5 separate regions of the Homo sapiens genome follow, and regions 2, 3, 4 and 5 are each linked to region 1. The links are contacts of gene promoters, found by promoter capture Hi-C in blood cells and fetal thymus (Javierre and others, 2016). All regions are on one chromosome and are shown on one strand. Each heading gives the region's core, a stretch centred on a gene start or on the middle of the fragment in contact. The rest is flanking DNA. Distances are from core to core; before and after follow the strand shown.

Evidence for each region. Contacts are between HindIII fragments. The CHiCAGO score rates a contact against its expected background, and 5 or more counts as called.
Region 2: a fragment that was not itself captured here is called in contact with the fragment with the promoter of RHOC in region 1 in 1 of 17 cell types (monocytes); the score reaches 6.3 in monocytes.
Region 3: a contact is called between a fragment that was not itself captured here and the fragment with the promoter of RHOC in region 1, in 4 of 17 cell types (naive CD8 T cells, total CD4 T cells, naive CD4 T cells and 1 more). The highest score is 7.7, in naive CD8 T cells.
Region 4: a fragment that was not itself captured here is called in contact with the fragment with the promoter of RHOC in region 1 in 6 of 17 cell types (total B cells, total CD4 T cells, naive CD8 T cells and 3 more); the score reaches 7.0 in total B cells.
Region 5: a fragment that was not itself captured here is called in contact with the fragment with the promoter of RHOC in region 1 in 5 of 17 cell types (non-activated CD4 T cells, fetal thymus, monocytes and 2 more); the score reaches 7.3 in non-activated CD4 T cells.

What each region holds. Positions count from the first base shown.
Region 1 is chr1:112,705,803-112,709,738 of GRCh38, forward strand. RHOC (ras homolog family member C) reads right to left here and starts at 1,325. Exons shown (of 6, transcript NM_175744.5): 1 at 1,276-1,325. RefSeq lists a silencer at 1,045-1,764. The HindIII fragment of the contact is 12,151 bases long and covers 1-3,936 here.
Region 2 is chr1:113,665,851-113,669,551 of GRCh38, forward strand. The region is part of intron 16 of MAGI3 (membrane associated guanylate kinase, WW and PDZ domain containing 3); the gene reads left to right. Among named protein-coding and RNA genes, the nearest start is that of PHTF1, 92 kb to the right of the region's middle. The HindIII fragment of the contact is 551 bases long and covers 1,331-1,881 here.
Region 3 is chr1:113,448,886-113,452,634 of GRCh38, forward strand. The region is part of intron 1 of MAGI3 (membrane associated guanylate kinase, WW and PDZ domain containing 3); the gene reads left to right. It also overlaps the pseudogene LOC100421402. Among named protein-coding and RNA genes, the nearest start is that of MAGI3, 60 kb to the left of the region's middle. The HindIII fragment of the contact is 5,311 bases long and covers 1-3,749 here.
Region 4 is chr1:113,687,077-113,690,968 of GRCh38, forward strand. No RefSeq gene overlaps it. Among named protein-coding and RNA genes, the nearest start is that of PHTF1, 70 kb to the right of the region's middle. The HindIII fragment of the contact is 2,377 bases long and covers 297-2,673 here.
Region 5 is chr1:113,390,600-113,394,500 of GRCh38, forward strand. MAGI3 (membrane associated guanylate kinase, WW and PDZ domain containing 3) reads left to right here. Exons shown (of 21, transcript NM_001142782.2): 1 at 1-750. The coding sequence starts at 435. Among named protein-coding and RNA genes, the nearest start is that of MAGI3, 2.0 kb to the left of the region's middle. RefSeq lists silencers at 332-461, 522-681 and enhancers at 362-861, 912-961. The HindIII fragment of the contact is 2,247 bases long and covers 1,410-3,656 here.

The DNA of each region.
Region 1 (3,936 bases), core at 75-2,574:
CTGGGGTGAAAGCCAGTCACTTAGGCATGAGTATGCCACTGCTGTCCCCCCAGCAGGGTAATTCAGACGGCACCAGAGTGGTGGGAGGCAGAGGACAGAAACCCGGGGTTGAGGCATGCGTTAAGGGACCTGGAGCCTCCAGCCCAATTAGAAGACTTTCCCTCCAGGCTATGATTGGGCCAGAACAGCAGGCAGCCCAGGCCAGGACACTAGGCCCAAGGCCAAGATGGCATGGACAACTCCCTGTGAGAGGCAGCCCCAGAGGGACTGTCCCACTGACCCCTTAAGAGGGGCAACTGAGCCCCACACAGGGCCTGGAATGGAGCCTGGAACTTCTGGGGCCTTCCCCAAGACAAGACAGTGTGGCTACATCAGACCTCTCTCCAATCGCTCTCTTGAATTCCCAGATGATCCAGAGCGGCCGGTTGACTTTGCCGGCCCACCCTACACCTAGGGAAGGAATCCGTTCTGGAGATACCAAGAGATACTGCATTCTCAACTTTAAAACCAGAGTGAGGGCGGGACTCGGCCTCGGGATCCCAGTCCCAAACCCCAGGATACTCTTTCTTGGTTCGAGTATGAAGAAGGAGGATTCTCAATCTCATTTTCTCTCTCTCTCTCTCTCTCTACACACACACACACACACACACACACACACACACCACACACACACACACACACACACACACACACACACACACACACACACACACACACACACACACACACACACACAGAGTTGGATCCTTCCCCATCTCCCTTATCCTCAACACAAGCGGGCTCCAGGAACCGTCCAGGGCGGCGTCCAGACCCTGCCGAGCAGTGGCAGGCCCCAATGGTCACATCCCGCCCCTATTCCCGCCATACCTCCCTCCTGGCCTGGAGGAATTCCCACCCCATCCCACTCTAGGTCCCCTGCGGCCGCCCACCCTGGGGGCTGGGGCGTCTGAGTTGAAGTTCCCTCGCCCCTCGCCCGGCGGGGCAGGTTCCGGGAAGCTGGGAGGAGAAGGGAAGGGGCTCCGACTCGGACCTCAGGAGGCCAGAGCCCCTGCCGGCAGGTCCGGGCCCCCTCGCTGCAGCCCGGGGAGGGGCCGACGCGGTCCGACCACCGCCCAGCCCGGATGCCGACTCCGCTTGGAGGGAACGGGGTCCACGCCCAGGCCGAAGCCCCTCCTCGCACGGGCCCCGATCTCCGGGCCAGCGAGGAAGGGAAAGTGCTCTCCTGGGGACGAGTTCCCAAGACGCCCCACCGCCCGCAGCCCCGGCCCAGGGTACCTTCCGCTCCGCCGCCTCCAGCTGCGCGGCCGGTGCCGGAGGCTCAGACTGACCCCAGGGCCCCGCCCCGCCCTCCTCCAGCGCCGCGGCGGGGAGGGCGGGCCCGGCAGGGGGAGGGTCGGCCGGGGGCGGCCCTTGGCTCGGCCCGCCCCGGCCCCGCGCAGGGCCGCAGCCACCGGCCCCCTCCGCAGGCCGGGGACTGGGGGCCAGGGGCGTCCACCCCTCCAGGTCGGGGAGAGCCACGGGGAGATTCCTGGACTGCGGAGGAGCCGGGCGAGCGGGGGGAGCACGACCCGGGTGGACTCAGACTCTGCCCAGCCTTCAATCCCCTAGGGGAGGACCGGCGTCGGGAAAGTTAAGAGGTGCTCGGGGTGGGGTCAGGAAGGGCCGCTGCTGCCCTCCTGTGGCCAAGCGGCCACCCGCTCCTGCTGCACCTGGGACCTCGCGGGAAGCGGGACTGGGAAAGGGTATCCGCCGGGAGGTCCCAGGGCCCGGCGCGGGTGTGTTGGTTGGGGGGAGATGTCCACCCTCTTGTTCCTAGGATCGTACAGCCCAACGTCATCCCCCAAACTTGAAGACCTCTCAGAGCCGTTCAGACCCAGACCACCGTTCCTCCTCACAATTCGCTTTCTTCCCTGGGCCTGGAATTTCCAGGAGTCCAATTCCTACCTACTCCTCAAAGGGTGCGCCTAGAAATGCTTCTGGATCCCAGCTGTGAATTCTGTTCCCACTCCTAGGTCTGACTTGGCGCATAGGATATTTACCTACACGCGTATCTCCTTTCCCTGTAAGGGAGCTGAGGAGGTGGGAGTAGAATGAGGACGTCCACCAACATTTCATTGGCTTGTGCTTGGGACACTACACAGCTTAACCCTTTCAATATTCATCACAGATCTCTGGGGAAAATATACCCATCCCCTTTTGCCCATAGAGAAGCTGAGGTTCAGAGAAATCAAGTGGCTTACACAACTGTTTTTGACTTGTGACAGCAAGAATTCACACAGCCGGGCCTGTCTGGCTCCAAACTGGTGGTCTGGCCCTGCTACCTCACGGGCTCCTCCAGCCTGTCCCTTCCCCCGTTGTCTAGCAGAGTGAGTGGCACATAATAGGTTGTCAACAAATATTTGATGAATGAATGAATGTTAGGAGTCATACAGACTTTAAATATCTGAAGTGCAATCCAGACATTTGACAAATGTGAAAACAGGTCCGCAGCAGTTTGGCCCCAGGCCTCTTAACTGACTCAATGAACATTTCTCGAGGGTGAACTGAGAGCTATGTTCGGAAGATCCATTTCTGCCTTCAAACAACTTAGAGTCTAAATGAGGAATGCAATTTCAAGATAGCTAACATTTATTGAATCCATATTACATGGACCTGGGTCCACATACATTAACTACAAGAATCCCATGAGGTAGCTATCTCCATTTTACTGAGAAGCAAATTGAGGTTCAGAGAGGTTACAGAGCTAGTGCTGGGTCTGACACTAGAACCCAAACAGCTGAACTCTAGAGCCCCTGTTCTTAATTCCTACTCCCTACTGACTCCTAATGTAGACAGTTACAATACCGGAGGTCATTGCTGTAGTGTGGGCATGTGTGGGCTGTGCGATACCCAGTCCTGAACAACAGGTGAAGTTCTCAAGATAAGGTGATGTGTAGATTTTTTTAATTTTAATTTTTTTTTGAGACAAGGTCTCTGTTGCCTAAGTGTGCAGTGGCAAGATCTCAGCTCACTGCAGCCTCAACTTTCCAGGCTCCAATGATTTTCCCACTTCAGCTTCCCCAGCAGCTGAGACTACAGGCGTGTACCATCACACCTAATTTTTGTATTTTTTGTACAGATGAGGTCTTGCTATATTGCCCAGGCTGGTGAGGGGCCTTTTCTAATTATTTTGCTCATCTTTATTTTTGCTTCCCTTAACTTACTTTGGGTTTAATTTGCTGTTCTTTTTCTAGCCTCTTAAGGTGGAAACAGATCACTGATTTGAGATCTTTATTCTTTTCTACTATAAGCAATACTCTTAATTTCCTTGGATGCTTAACTGCTTCCCACAGGCACTCACCACTACATTCAGCTAATTTTTTATTTTTTTGTAGAGATGGGGTCTCACTATTGCCCAGGGTGGTCTTAAACTCCTGGGCTTAGCAGTCCTCTCACCTCTGCCTCCCAAAGTGTTGGGATTACAGGCGTGAACCACCGTGTCCAGCAGTAGATTTTGAATAAGTTGGAGCTACTAAAAGCCCACAGTTATGCAAACCCCAGGAAGTTGGTGGTGGTGGTAAAAAATGAAGCTGGAGAAGGAAGCAGTGGCTGGATCATGAAGGTCCTTATATGCCATGCACAGGAGTTGAGTGTTGATTTTGTTCTAGGCGCAATAAGGAGCCACTAAATTTAGGAGGCCAATATAGTAAAAGGTGGTGGTGACTGAAGGCGGGGAGAGATGGAGATAAGTAGAGAAATACTTTTAAAGGTCTATAGTCAACAATACTTAGTGATCAATTACCTTGATGAGAAAGAAATGAAAGCCAAGGGTGACCAACTCCAAGATTTCTAACTGGAGCAGCAGAGCTGGTGCCCATTGAGGGGATATACCAGGAGAAGGAACATGCTATGGAGGGCAGTCGTGAATTTAGTTTGAGGTATTTGAATTGAAGTGCC
Region 2 (3,701 bases), core at 356-2,855, 960 kb after region 1:
TATTATAGGCATACCTTGGAGATACTGCAGGTTCAGTTATAGGCCACTGCCATTAGGTAGTGAATATTGCAATAAAGTGAATCACATGAACTTTTTGGTTTTCTAGTGCATATAGAAGTTATATTTACACTATACTGTAGTCTCTTAAGTGTGCAATAGCAGTATGTCTTAAAAAACAATATACATACCTTAATGAAAGTATACTTTATTGCTAAGAAATGCTAATGATCATCTGGGCCTTTAGTAAGTCTTAATCTTTATGCTGATGGAGGGTCTTGCCTCGATGTTGATGGTTGCTGACTGATTTGGGTGGTAGTTACTGAAGGTTGAGGTGGCTGTAGCAATTTCTTAAAATAAGACAATAAAGTCTGCCACATTGACTCTTTCTTTCACCAAAGATCTCTCTGTAGCATGTGATGCTGTTTGATAGCATTTTACCCACAGTAAAACTTCTTTCAAAATTGGACTTTGTCCTCTCAAACTTTGCCTCTACTTTATCAACTAAGGTTATGTACTATTCTAAATCCTTTGTGGTCATTTCAACAGTGTTCACAGCATCTTCACCAGGAGTAGATTCCATCTCAAGAAGCCACTTCTTTGCTCATCCGTAGGAAGCAAATCCTCACCTGTTCAAGTTTTGTCATGAGATTACAGCAATTCAGTCCCAACTTCAGGCTCTACTTCTAATTCTGTTCCTTGCTGTTTCTACCACATCTGCAGTTACTTCCTCCACTGAAGTCTTGAACCTCTCAAAGTCATCCATGGGAACTAGAATCAAATTATTCCAAATTCCCGTTAATGTTGATATTTTTGACCTCTTCCCCATGAATCACGAATGTTCTTAATGTCGTCTAGAAACCTTTCCAGGTTTTCAGTTTGCTTTGCCTAGACCCGTAGAAAAATCACTATCTGTGGCAGCTATAGACTTACCAAATATATTTCTTAAAATACTAAGACTTGAAAGTCAAAATTACTCCTTGATCCATGGGCTACAGAATGGATGTTGTATTGGAACTCATGAAAACAACATTTATCTCCTTGTATTTCTCCATCAGAGCTCTTGAGTGACTAGGTGCTTTGTCAGTAAGCAGTAATATTTTGAAAGGAATCTTTTTTTCTGAGCAGTAGGTCTCAACAGTGGGATTAAATTATTCAGTAAATCATGCTGTAAACAGATGTGCTGTCATCCAGGCTTTATTGTTCCATTTTTAGAGCATAGGCAGAGTAGATTTAGCATAATTCTTAAGGGCCCTAAGATTTTTGGAGTGTAAATGAGCACATGAATTTACCAGCTGCATTAGCCCCTAGCAAGAGAGTCAGCTGCCTTTGAAGCTTTGAAGCCAGGCATTGACTTCTCCTTTCTAGCTATGAAAGTCCTAGATGGCATCTTCTTCTAATAAGAGGCTGTTTTGTCTACCTTGAAAATCTGTTGTTTAGTGTAGCCACCTTCACCAATGATATTAGTTGAATCTTCTGGAAAAGTTGCTGCAGCTTCTGTATCAGCACTTGCTGCTTCACCTTGCAGTTTTATATTATAGAGATGACTTCTTTCCTTAAACCTCATGAACCAGCTTCTTCTAGCTTCACACTTTTCTTCTGCAGCTTCCTCAGCTCTCAGAATGGAAGAAAGTTAGGGCCTTGCTCTGGATTAGGCTTTGGCTTATGGAAATACTGTGGCTGGTTTGATCTTCTATCCAGACCACTAAAACTTTCTCCATATCCAGCAATAAGGCTGTTTCATTTTCTTGTCACTCATTTGTTCACTGGAGTAATATTTACAATTTTCTTCAAGAACTTTTCTTTTGCATTCACAACTTGGCTAACTGGTACAAGAGGTCTAGCTTTCAGCCTGTCTCAGGTCTCAACAAGCCTTCCTCACTAAGCTTAATCAAGTCTAGCTTTTGACGTAAAGTGAGAGATATGCAACTCTTTCTTTCACTTGAATACATAGAGGTCATTGTAGGGTTATTAATTGGCATGATCAATATTGTGCATCTCAGGGAATAGAGGGGCCTGAGGAGAGGGAGAAAGATGGGGAAAGGCTAGTTGATGGAGCCAGCACACACATATTTATCGATTATGTTTGCCATTTTATATGGGTGTGATTTGTGGCACCCAAAAACAATTAGAGACAAGTAACTTGAAATTGACATACCCAGTAAGCAAAGGTGGAAGACCTGGGAATTTCCAGTGGGTACAAGAATATAAATATCAAAGATCACTGACCACAGATCACCATAACAGATATAATAATAATGAAAAAGTTAGAAATTTTGGAAGAATTACCAAAATGTGACACAGAGACATGAAAGTGAGCACATGCTGTTGGAAAAATGGCACTAATAGACTCGCCCAATGCAGGGTTGCCATAAACCTTCAATTTATAAAAAATGCAATAAAATGAAGTGTACTAAAATAAGGCATACCTATACTTACAGACAGAAAGCCCAGCAAAAATGTAATTCTCATCGAAGGAGAGATATACTTAACCCATTGCTTTACTATTTTAAGAATTTTCAAATAAAATTCAGAGAGAAGATAGGCCTGTTTGACATTATGGAATAAATATTTGACTTTGTGAAGTAAAATAGCTTATAACAGAAAAAAAATGGAGAAGCCATGTAGCACGGGTTGAAGGACTAAAAATGAAAAGAATCCCAGTGATAGGAAGTTTTACTTAAATTTGATGAAGACAACAAAACAACAAAAAACATGTAACTTTTTTTTTTTTTTTTTTTTTTTTGAGACGGAGTCTCGCTCTGTCGCCCAGGCCGGACTGCGGACTGCAGTGGCGCAATCTCGGCTCACTGCAAGCTCCGCTTCCCGGGTTCACGCCATTCTCCTGCCTCAGCCTCCCGAGTAGCTGGGACTACAGGCGCCCGCCACCGCGCCCGGCTAATTTTTTGTATTTTTAGTAGAGACGGGGTTTCACCTTGTTAGCCAGGATGGTCTCGATCTCCTGACCTCATGATCCACCCGCCTCAGCCTCCCAAAGTGCTGGGATTACAGGCGTGAGCCACCGCGCCCGGCCAAAAACATGTAACTTTAAAAGTAAGCACCAATTTGTGGTACATTTTGCCTGGAACTGAAATGTCTCATCTGGAATGGAAGGTAGAGGAAAACTTGAAATTGATCAGATTACTTCTATTGTCCTGCTCTGATGTTATACACTCATTACAATAGCCAAGCTAGTAACGCCGATAAATTATCTCTCTTGACCACATGCAAAGGTACAAGTATCTCCCAGTCATCTCATTGGCAAATGGAATTTTCCCCATCATTTTCCATCTCCTTAATAGTAACCATGAATTTACAGCGACCGAAGACAATCGAACTCTATACTGGGCAGTAAAGTTTAGAGACAGGTAACTTGAAATTGACATACCCAGGAAGCAAATGTGGAAGAACTTATGGAAATTTCTAGTGAGTACAGGAATATCGAGATAACTGAGATGTGATTCTTGCAATCAAGGAGTTCAGAGTCTAGTAGGAGAGACAGGTGTTCTGCCAGCTCTGACACAATGTGGGAAATGCTGTGAGAACATTGTGATCACAGTGTGCTTAAGGTGCCAGGTAGGATTTCACAGAGGAGGTGACAATTTGAACATGAGGTGAAATGGAAAGCCAGGAGTGCCCAGGTAACAAGTATCTTATGAGCAAGAAAACGTCACCATAGGTTGTTTTTGTTTGTTAGTTTGAGA
Region 3 (3,749 bases), core at 636-3,135, 740 kb after region 1:
AGGTGGGCAGATCACCTGAGGTCGGGAGTTCAAGAGCAGCCTGACCAACATAGAGAAACCCCATCTCTACTAAAAATACAAAATTAGCCCAGCGTGGTGGTGCATGCCTGTAATCCCAGCTACCTGAGAGGCTGAGGCAGGGAAATTGCTTGAACCTGGGAGGCAGAGGTTGTGGTGAGCCGAGATCACGCTATTGCACTCCCCTGGGCAACAAGAGCAAAACTTCATTTCAAAAAAAAAAAAAAAAGAATATTTTGCAATATCAGGGGGCAATAATGTGATATGCTGGATAGTAAAAAGTTAATGAGGACATAGATGCCTAGTCTAAGCAAAATAGATAAGAAGTTGCTGATCGTAATTGATGAGAATGACGTCACAGTGGAATAGCAGATAATGCATGAGTGGTGAATTTCCTCGTTTAGTCTTACTTTGAGGCAGCAAATAAATCCTTTATAAGTGTTGCATTACTTTTATGGTGTGTGTGTGTGTGTGTGTGTGTGTGTGACAGAGAGAGAGGCTTCAATCCTTAAATCATGTAATATTAAGAAAAAACAAATGAATTCACTTAGAAGATTTGGGGCTGGATCTATATTTTTTCATCATTTTAACATTTGGGGGTTAAAATTTCCAGACCGTTGGAGACGACATCCATCCAGAACAGAGTAGATCCTGGAGATTCTGGATAAATTATCTGCAAGTGCATTTTTTTTTCCCAATAGATTGAGTTTATTATCAACATTCAGTTTGCTGATTAAAAAATTTTTCAGTATATCGATATTGAACTCGAGTTGGAAGAGGCGAGTCTGGTCTCAAAATGGAGGGCCATGATCCAAAGGAACCAGAGAAGTTGAGAAAACTGTTTATTGGTGGTCTGAGCTTTGAAACTACAGATGATAGTTTAAGAGAACATTTTGAGAAATGGGGCACACTCACAGATTGTGTGGTAATGAGAGACCCCCAAACAAAACGTTCCAGGGGCTTTGGTTTTGTGACTTATTCTTGTGTTGAAGAGGTGGATGCAGCAATGTGTGCTTGACCACACAAGGTTGATGGGCGTGTAGTGGAACCAAAGACAGCTGTTTCTAGAGAGGATTCTGTAAAGCCTGGTGCCCATCTAACAGTGAAGAAAATTTTTGTTGGTGGTATTAAAGAAGATACAGAAGAATATAATTTGAGAGACTTCTTTGAAAAGTATGGCAAAATTGAAACCATAGAAGTTACGGAAGACAGGCAGAGTGGGAAAAAGAGGATTTGCTTTTGTAACTTTTGATGAGCATGATACAGTTGATAAAATTGTTGTTCAGAAATACCACACTATTAATGGGCATAATTGTGAAGTGAAAAAGGCCCTTTCTAAACAAGAGATGCAGTCTGCTGGATCACAGAGAGGTCGTGGAGGTGGATCTGGCAATTTTATGGGTCGCGGAGGAAACTTTGGAGGTGGTGGAGGAGCTATGGTGGTGGAGGTGGTGGCAGCAGAGGTAGTTATGGAGGAGGTGATGGTGGATATAATGGATTTGGAGGTGATGGTGGCAACTATGGTGTGGTCCTGGTTATAGTAGTAGAGGGGGCTATGGTGGTGGTGGACCAGGATATGGAAACCAAGGTGGTGGATATGGTGGAGGTGGTGGAGGATATGATGGTTACAATGAAGGAGGAAATTTTGGCGGTGGTAACTATGGTGGTGGTGGGAACTATAATGATTTTGGAAATTATAGTGGACAACAGCAATCAAATTATGGACCCGTGAAAGGGGACAGTTCTGGTGGAAGAAGCTCGGGCAGTCCCTATGGTGGTGGTTATGGATCTGGTGGTGGAAGTGGTGGATATGGTAGCAGAAGGTTCGAAAAACAGCAGAAAAGGGCTACAGTTCTTAGTAGGAGAGAGAGCGAGGAGTTGTCAGGAAAACTGCAGCTTACTTTGAGACAGTCCTCCCAAATGCATTAGAGGAACTGTAAAAATCTGCCACAGAAGGAACGATGATCCATAGTCAGAAAAGTTATTGCAGCTTAAACAGGAAACCCTTCTTGTTCAGGACTGTCATAGCCACAGTTTGCAAAAAGTGCAGTTATTGATTAATGCAATGTAGTGTCAATTAGATGTACATTCCTGAGGTCTTTTATCTGTTGTAGCTTTGTCTTTTTCTTTTTCTTTTCATTACATCAAGTATATTGCCCTGTAAATTGTGGTAGTGGTACCAGGAATGAAAAATAAAGGAATTTTTAACTTTTCAAAAGAAAAATTTTTCAGTATATCTGCATAAATGAAATTGGTCCATCATGTGTATTAGAGGAAGCTATCCTTACTCCGTTTGTTATCAGGATTATGTTAGCTTGAAGAATGGACTGATAAACTTTCTATAAGGCTTATTACAGGCTTTAACCTGTAAAATTGATCTCATCGTAAACAGCTTTGAGAGTATACAGATAGTTGACTATTTTTCTTCTCTGGTTTCTTCAGATACTCTTCATCATCTTGGATTTGTTTTAATAATTTATATATGTTAAAGAAAATAATCAAAACTGTGCAGATTTATAAATCTTTAAAATTGTACACAATATTATATATTTTAAAACTCCCTACATATGCAGTTTTATCACCCTTCTCATTTATGGTACACCATAAGACTCACTTTTTGATGCCAAGTGTTCTCGAAAATGTCCTAAGGAAGATCATTGCTGGAACAATGTTATTTTTGAGACTTTTGTTCCTTATAAGGAAATAGACATCAATTAAGGAGGGAATTTTTTTTTTGGAGGTGGAAATGGGTAGTATGATCAAGCAACTATATGTATATTTCCCTGGGGAACACGGCATTAAGAAGAGAAAATAATCCCAACTATTAACAATTTCATCTGTGCAGTGGTTTTTATTCTGCAACATTGTCTTTTCTATTTTTGTACATGTTTTCTAGAAAAGGTAAACATGTAGTAGAAATAAATGTGATGTTAATTGCTATGGCAGTGTGTCTGTACACATTACTTTTTTCTCCTGTCTACCCACCTTCCATTGGCAATCACCCAACTGGTTAGGTAAATGAGGGTGGATGGATAATAAACGTTTCTTCACAATTACTTCCTTAGCTCTCAAAAGGGATTCTGAAGCATTCCATTATAAGTGCTGCTTACAGACATGCTGAAATGACCACTTTTTGCTCTGGAGTGATATTCTTTGCTTAATAAAGAACAAGAGATCACAATATCTTTCTTTCCTGAGCAGAAGCAGGGCAAACTGTTGATTCCTTTTTGTTTTTTTCCTGCAAAGAAAGGACCTTGCTTATGTCACCCAATTTCCCCTTTCAGGAAGGGGAAGTAATTTTTAGTAAGTCAAGGTATGTAGTAGCCATAAGGTCTTCTGTTTAGGATTAAGGTTCAGTGAAGTCATTTGGCATTCATTTATTTTTGGAGTTTTGATCCGAAAGCTGCTTCATTGCAGAATTTTAGTCTGAATTATGTTCTAAAGATTGATGATCTCTCTATGGGACTTCACTGTAACTACTCCATTAGGACATCAGATTTAGCCAAGTATTTATGTGTTAATTTTGTTGGATTAACTTATGTGCATAGACATACACACACACACACACACACACACACACACACACTGAAGCCTCATTGTTCCCTTAAATTTTAATTTTTATTTGATATCTTTTCATAATCTATTGAGAAAAGTTATGATGGGAATGCAGTACTGTGAGTTTGCACTGACAATAAAGGTTGATCTATGACAGCCTCTTAGAAGCAACTACT
Region 4 (3,892 bases), core at 235-2,734, 980 kb after region 1:
TGAACAGGAACAACTCTTATTTCAGAAGTCTTGGATCCAGAAAGGCACTTGGCTTTTTATTCTACATGAGAATACCTTGTTACTTCCCTTTTTAATAGCAAGATTTAAAAGAGAAATAAATGTAATCATGTAGAAGTAAAACCAAATGCTTTTAAACATGTAGACAAAGAATTATTTTATGTTTAATATGTCCACCATTCAAAGAGTAAGGATTTATAAGGCAAGGAGTATTCAGATTAAACTGTATAAAACAAACAGTCTCACTAATGACTTCCAGAAAGCTGTATTTAAGTTGAAGCTTAGTCCACAGTGGAGCTAAGGAACATTGATATAAATAAACTTGTTACAAAATGTGACATTTCAGTCTGGTATGAGGAATACATCAGAGCAAGTTTTTACATCATCATGGCATGCTCCAAGGCCTAAAAACTATTTGTGCTTTGAAACAATAACATTTATTTATTCGGGTGGCTCTTTTCTGGTTCTATTAGAGTTTATCGGGAATATGACTTGTTTAAAGCATGTCATTATTACATGGAATCTATAATCTTTGCTTTTAGCTAGCTGAATTAACTTAATATATCAACTAAGTTGGATATTTTTTCAACATTGCTAGGCAAGTAGCCTTAAGAATTATAAAGCCAGGCATGGTAGTAGACACCTGTAGTCCAAACTACTCAGGAGGCTGAGCTGGGAGGATCACTTGTGCCCAGGAGTTTGAGTCCAGCCTGGATGACACAGTGAGACCCCCATCTCAAAAATAAATCTTTTTCTTTTTTTTCCCCTTGAGATGGGGTCTCACTCTGCCACCCAGGCTGGAGTGCAGTGGCACGATCTTGGCTCACTGCAACCTCTGCCTCCTGGGTTCAAGCAGTTCTCCCACCTCAGCCTCCCCAGTAGCTAGGACTACAGGCGCACACTACCACACCCAGCTAATTTTTGTACTTCTTGGTAGAGATGGGGTTTCACCATGTTGGCCAGGCTGGTCTCAAACCCCTGATCTCAGGTGATCTGCCCACCTCAGCTTCCCAAAGTGCAGGGGTTACAGGTGTGAGCCACTGTGCCCAGCCAAAAAAAAAAAAATTTTTTTTTAAGTAGTATAATAAGGGAGTATGAAGGCTTATAAGGAGTTAGAATTCTGGCTGGGCGCGGTGACTCACGCCTGTAATTCCAGCACTTTGGGAGGCCAAGGCAGGTGGATCAGGAGGTCAGGAGATCAAGACCATCTTAGCCAACATGGTGAAACCCATTTCTACTAAAATACAAAAAAATAGCTGGGTGTGGTGGCGCATGCCTATAATCTCAGCTACTTGGGAGGCTGAGGCAGGGGAATCGCTTGAACCTAGGAGGCGGAGGTTGCAGGGAGCTGAGATCATGCCACTGCACTCCAGCCTGGCGACAGAGCAAGAACTGTCTCAAAAAAAAAAAAAAAAAATTCTATTTAATAGAAAACTCTGAATCTTTCTTATGTATACATTAAAATAGGAAAACATAGCCAAGAGCTTTAATTTAGCCTAAACCTATATCTTGACAAATAATCCTGTGGGTATTTTGCAATACTGCATTCAAGTCAAGCCTAACTATTAGCAAATACACAAATCAAGAGACATATTTTGTCCTTAATAAAAGATAATCGGCTGGGCACAGTGGCTCACGCGTGTATTCCCAACACTTTGGGAGGCCGAGGCAGGTGGATCACGAGGTCAGGAGATCGAGACCATCCTGGCTAACACAGTGAAATCCCGTATCTACTGAAAATACAAAAAATTAGCCAGGCGTGGTTGCACGCGCCTGTAGTCCCAGCTACTCAAGAGGCTGAGGCAGGGGAATTACTTGAACCTGGGAGGCAGAAGTTGCAATGAGCCAAGATCGCACCACTGCACTCCAGCTTGGGTGACAGAGCGAGACTCCATCTCAAAAAAATTAAAAAAAAAAAAAATAGAAAAATAAAAGACAACCATTTATTAACTAGAGTAATACCCTATTATACCTTATAGGCTCAGGATATGCTGCAGGAAAGGTATAGAATTATTGCACATTTGTGAAACTCACACTTCACTATTCAACATGGGCCCCAATAACAGCAGGGAGCAAAGGATTACTAAACTAGCCAGTACATGAATAGATTAGGTTTAATGAATTAACTCCCAAGTGACACACTGTATTTGGAAGAGAGACTCATCTAGCCTATTATGAGTGTGTAGATCTAAAAGTTTTCACACATAAATTTCATTAATTTGAAAGATTATTTTTAAACTGCATAGGTCCACTTGCCTCTAAATAAAATGAACCTAAAATAAAAACAAACTATACTTTGTGAGACATCCTGGTATTTAGAATTTTTCTACCTGTCTCTGAAAGTCAGAACCATACTCCAATGAGGCAAGTATTTGGTTATTCAACTTCTCAAAGTGTTTATATTATACATGGGCCATATTGTACATATTTAGAAAGTCTGTAGATCAGCAGTCCCCAACCTTTTTGGCACCAGAGACTGATTTCATGGAAGGCAATTTTTCCACGGACCTGGGGGCAGGGAGAAGGGATGCAGGGAGGGGGTGGTTTCAGGATGATTCAAGTGCATTACATTTACTGTGCACTTTATTATTTCATTGTAATATATAATGAAATAATTATACAACTCACCATAATGTAGAATCAGTGGGAGCCCCAAGCTTGTTTTCTTGCAACTAGACGTCCCATCTGGAAGTGACGGGAGACAGTGACAGATCATCAGGCATTAGATTCTCATAAGGAGCACACGACCTAGATCCTCGCATGCACAGTCCACAACAGGGTTCACGCTCCTCTAAGAATCCAATGCTGCTGCTGACCTGACAGAGGTGACCTGACAGAGGTGGAGCTCAGGCAGTAATGCAAGCAGTGTGAGCAGCTGTAAATACAGATGAAGCTTCACTCTCACCTGCAGCTCACCTCCTGCTGTTCAGCGTGGGTGTGGGTGGCTGGGGACCCCTGTGGTATATTATACACCCACAGCAACTTTAGGAGAGATAATTTTTCCCAATATAACTGCAGATTATAAAATTAAGTCAACAGGTATTTTTCTTACCCTTCTATGGTTATTACTATTCCAACTAAATGTATGAATGGCCTAATCTAATTGTTTTTACATCTTGGTTTAATTTCTCAGTAACAAGTAATTATCACCAAAATCTCATTCCTTTTTTGAAATCAAAACAAAAGCCCAAGTTCCTAGAAATTATTATACAGGGATAAATGAGGCACTGAAGGTGGGAGAACCATGAAATTACAGTTGATCCTTGAACAACATGGGTTTGAATGGTGTGGGTCCACTTATATACAGGCCTTTTTCTGTAAGTATATTGGAAAATTTTTTTGAGATTTGTGGCAATTTGAAAAAACAAACCATGTAGCCTAGAAATATAGAAAAATTAAAAAGTTATATAGATACTAGCCTATTTTATCATTTACTATAAAATACACACAAATCTATTATAAAAAGTTAAAATTTATAAAAACATACAAACAAACTGTACATGGCACCATTCACGGTTGAGAGAAATGTAAACAAAGATACAGTATTAAATCATAACTGCATAAAATTAACTGTAGTACATACTGAGCTACTATAATTATTTTGTAGTTACCTCCTGTTGCTATTGTGGTGAACTCAAGTGTCAAAAGATCTGTTTAAAACACCATGTGATGCTAATCATCTCTGTGTGAGCAGTTCATCTCTCCATAAACCGTGGATCACAGTAAAAAGTGATCCCTTGCGGTTCTTGCATATTTTTCATGGTTAGTGCAATACTGTAAACCTTGAGGACATAAAAACTGCAGGACCCATATGAAGCACCACCAGTCATAGAAGTGCTCCCAAGAAGCACAGAAGAGTCATGACATTACAAGA
Region 5 (3,901 bases), core at 1,283-3,782, 690 kb after region 1:
GCTTCTGCGCGCCCCCCACGGATTTTTCCCGTTCCCGGCTCTTCCCCCTTCACCTCCCCGCCCCCCCGCCTCAGCCTTTCCCGCCGCTCGGGCGCTGAGCCCAGGGACCAGCCGGCGGCAGTGACCCCGCCCGAAGCCCCTTCTGGAACCTCCTGGGGACAATTCCCTTTTCCTTTCTTCAGCCTAACCCGCGGTGGCCCTCGCGGAGTCCGGTCAGCCCCGGGGAGCGCAGCCGGGAGGGGCGTCCAAGGGGCGTCTCGCGTCTGGGAACGGCCGGGCCCCCAGCGGGCTGTGGTCGCGGGGTGGGGGCCGGAGCGGCGAGGCCCCCCTTACCGGGCTGCGCGGGCCGCCCAGGGCCCCCGGGCTGAGACGGGGCCGGAGCGGCGCCCCGGCCGCCCGCGCGGGGTCTCCCCCATGGTGCAGCGGGGTTCGGGATGTCGAAGACGCTGAAGAAGAAGAAGCACTGGCTCAGCAAGGTGCAGGAGTGCGCCGTGTCCTGGGCCGGGCCCCCGGGCGACTTCGGCGCGGAGATCCGCGGTGGCGCGGAGCGTGGCGAGTTCCCCTACCTGGGGCGGCTCCGCGAGGAGCCCGGCGGGGGCACCTGCTGCGTCGTCTCGGGCAAGGCGCCCAGCCCAGGCGATGTGCTGCTGGAGGTAAACGGGACGCCTGTCAGCGGGCTCACCAACCGGGACACCCTGGCTGTCATCCGCCACTTCCGCGAGCCCATCCGTCTCAAGACTGTGAAACCAGGTACGCCGGCCCTGCGTATCTGTCTCGGGGTGTTGGGGAGAGGGGCTTCAGGGTGGGCGTCCTGGGAGCGGCGGCACCTCCCCACCGCGTATTGTCCCGGGTAATCTTAGACCTCTAGGGTGTGCCAGACTCCTTGACGAGGGGGAGGGGTGGCGTTGGTGAGTCCCATTTTGCCGAAGGGAAAACTGAGCTCTGGCTTGGCGCGGTTGCTCTGCTAGCTGTGCTAGCTGTCACAGAATTGCGACTAGAAGCTGGGTTTCCTACATTTGTAGCTCCATCTCCCCCCGCAGACAAGAGTTTTTGACTAGAGAAGGCCAGCCTTTTCCTGTGTTGTGCAAAAAGGCCCTTAGGATTGTAACATTTTCTTTGGAACGATCTTACGCATCTTCTAACAGGGAAAAAGGGACTTTACTATAGAGGCACTTGGTGCCAAGGTTACCACCTGGTGTACCTGGAAGGGCTTAGCTGCTTCAGTGTTTCTTGCACTCTAGCAGACATCTCAGAGCTGACAGCCTAACTCTGTCAGTCCAGGTGGTTCAGGTGTCTGAGTACCGATGACGGTACAATATGTGATATGTGGCAGACTGGTGTGTTCTTGCAGGGAGCTGTTGAATAGAGTCTGGGTTTTGCAGGAAGACCTAGGTGCCTAGCGGAGTGAAAGCTTCTGTAACGCTTTTGATTTTACAGAATTTTGTTGAAGTGGTAGGTTAAAGGAGCCTCTGTTGCCCTGGTATCTTTTATGCTAGTAAAAATTGCTGCAAAGCACGTTATGTTTATGGCATACTCGTCAGTTTCAAAGCATTGATCAGAGACAGCATACAGTGAGATCTGATAGTATGTAGTAGTTCTTATGAATTTGTTATAGACAGCATTGTTGGTTTTGTTTCAGCATAGATAGAATGTGGTTCTGTCGTCTTAGATGTTTGTGGGAGAGAGAATTGTGATTGTAACATTATTAGAAACCAAACTGTTTTTCCTTAATGTGCTCTGCTGAGTATACGGTGCATCAAAATATAATGGGCTGGTTAATTGTTACCTGGGCTAGGTAGCAGTCCATCCCTTGATGGCAAAATGCTAGAAAATTCTGGATAAAAATTTAATATGTTATCTCCTTCTCATTTCTTTCTCAGCAGCTCGCTTTGGAAATATTAATATATCTTTAATAGTCCTTGAGCTTAATGGGGCTTGATGGTTTGTGGTGCAGTTTACATATGTCTGTGTATTGTGGATATGTATACACACAGACTCACATGCTCCTAAGGTCATAATTAAGATTTTCTTTCTATAGCGTATTCCATCGTATTCATTTTAAGTGTATGGGTTTATGTGGTGAGGTTTTCTTTTTATTGTTGTTAATTTTTTAAAACTTTGGCAGACTTTAAACAGCTTTTTCTGTATAGTTTTGAGAATTTGTAAATTTTTTTCTTAACTCTAACTTTTACAGCCATGTGTGAAAGGCAGAGGAAAGACTTTTGGGGCTGTAATTCAGCTAGTCAGGCACTGTCTGTAATATGCAAAAGGCTATATAGACAGCATTTACTAGTCTAGCTGCCAAATCTTAGTTCAAATCCCATGAGTTAGTGAATAGTGAGAACATCTGCATCATTTCTTTGTGTTTTGTTTTGATTCGTTAGGGCATAGATGAGAATATAACTTATTTTTAGAAATTTTAAAGTTGATATATTGACATGGAAGCTGGTGTATTCTAAATTATTGTGATCTTTTTTAGAAGACTGAAGAGATGGCTATTTCATAACATTAGTCTAATCTACCTGTTATACATTTTTCTCAACCTCTATATTATATTTAACAATAATTCAAGATTTAGAGCATTAGTAATATTAACTGTGTTGAATAAACATCCTATGCCCCCGTATGTAGTTGACATTATTAGAGTAATACAGTTTTGCCCTCTTGACAGCCACAGACACTGTTCTATTTTAAAGATTTAGCCAAAATAAAGGGAATAACGTATTAATGGCCACAGAACATTTTGTAGTCATTAGTAATAAAGTTCTGAATACTACACTTGTTTTTTGAAGAGACACTTTGTGTCAGTAATTTCTCAAGATACCATTATGTCTGTGTTATTTGAGATTAATATTGTTTCTAAGCAGGTTGTAATTTAAAATTTTTAATCTCTTTTAAAAATAGTATTCTTAGCTTCTTAATAGCCTCATGTTAGGTATTATATTAAATGGCTTTCTTAAATGGCTTTGCTTAAAAGCAACATTTGTTATAAAATAGCAAGATTTTTGCAGGTTAAACAGACTTTAAATACTAGAAATTAAGAATTTGAAGAGGTTATCTGTAGAACTTTTGAGTTTGATTAAAAACAAATATTATTTTCAGAAGAGACAAAGATTCTTTATTGTGATTCATTTTGGAAAGGATGAAAATAGAGTAAGGGAATTTAAAAAGAAACTTGCCATAAACATTGTTTTATTTTTTGCTTTTATCTAAACTTTGTGACAGAAATTGATTTTTCAATTTAATAAGGTATTGTAAAGTGTACTTAGCACTCTCTTGTCTTGACTAGTTGCTTTTTATTAAACCATATTCATAACATGACATTTAGAGACTAGCACAGTGAAAGAGTAAAATTTAACCATTTTTGTAAGATGTAATACTAATCGGAAATGTTCTCATATTGTCTTCTGACAAAGTCCATGGCAGAAGGATGAGCTGGGTTGTAGAACATGGCTTTTGTAGCACTGATTCTTCCTAGCCTTCTTTTCACTTAGGTGCTAAGGGTCGCCCTCCCAAAGCCAGTACTATCAGCCAGGTGACTTAACATCTTTCTGGCAGCTACTGTCTTTAGCTTTGATTTTTTTTCCCTTTTTTTGTTGTTATAATCTTTAATAGAGAATTGAAAGTTACTCTTTAAAATATGGTTTCTAATCTGAAGCTTTTCCTGAATCAATTAGGTAGTTTCTTATTGTTTTAGTGTAGTACTTAGTAGTCAGTACTTTGCCCGCTTATAGAAGAATCTTTGGTTTCACCTATTGCTTGGCTCGATTAGTTACTTGTTTCTTAATTATGACCCTGTTGTTTATTTTTCTGCAAAGAGAAAAGTTGTCATTTGAGTTTGAACTTTGTCTTTTCCCAGTAGTAAAGTTGAACTTTGGACCTCTGGTGAAATTGTTTTGTG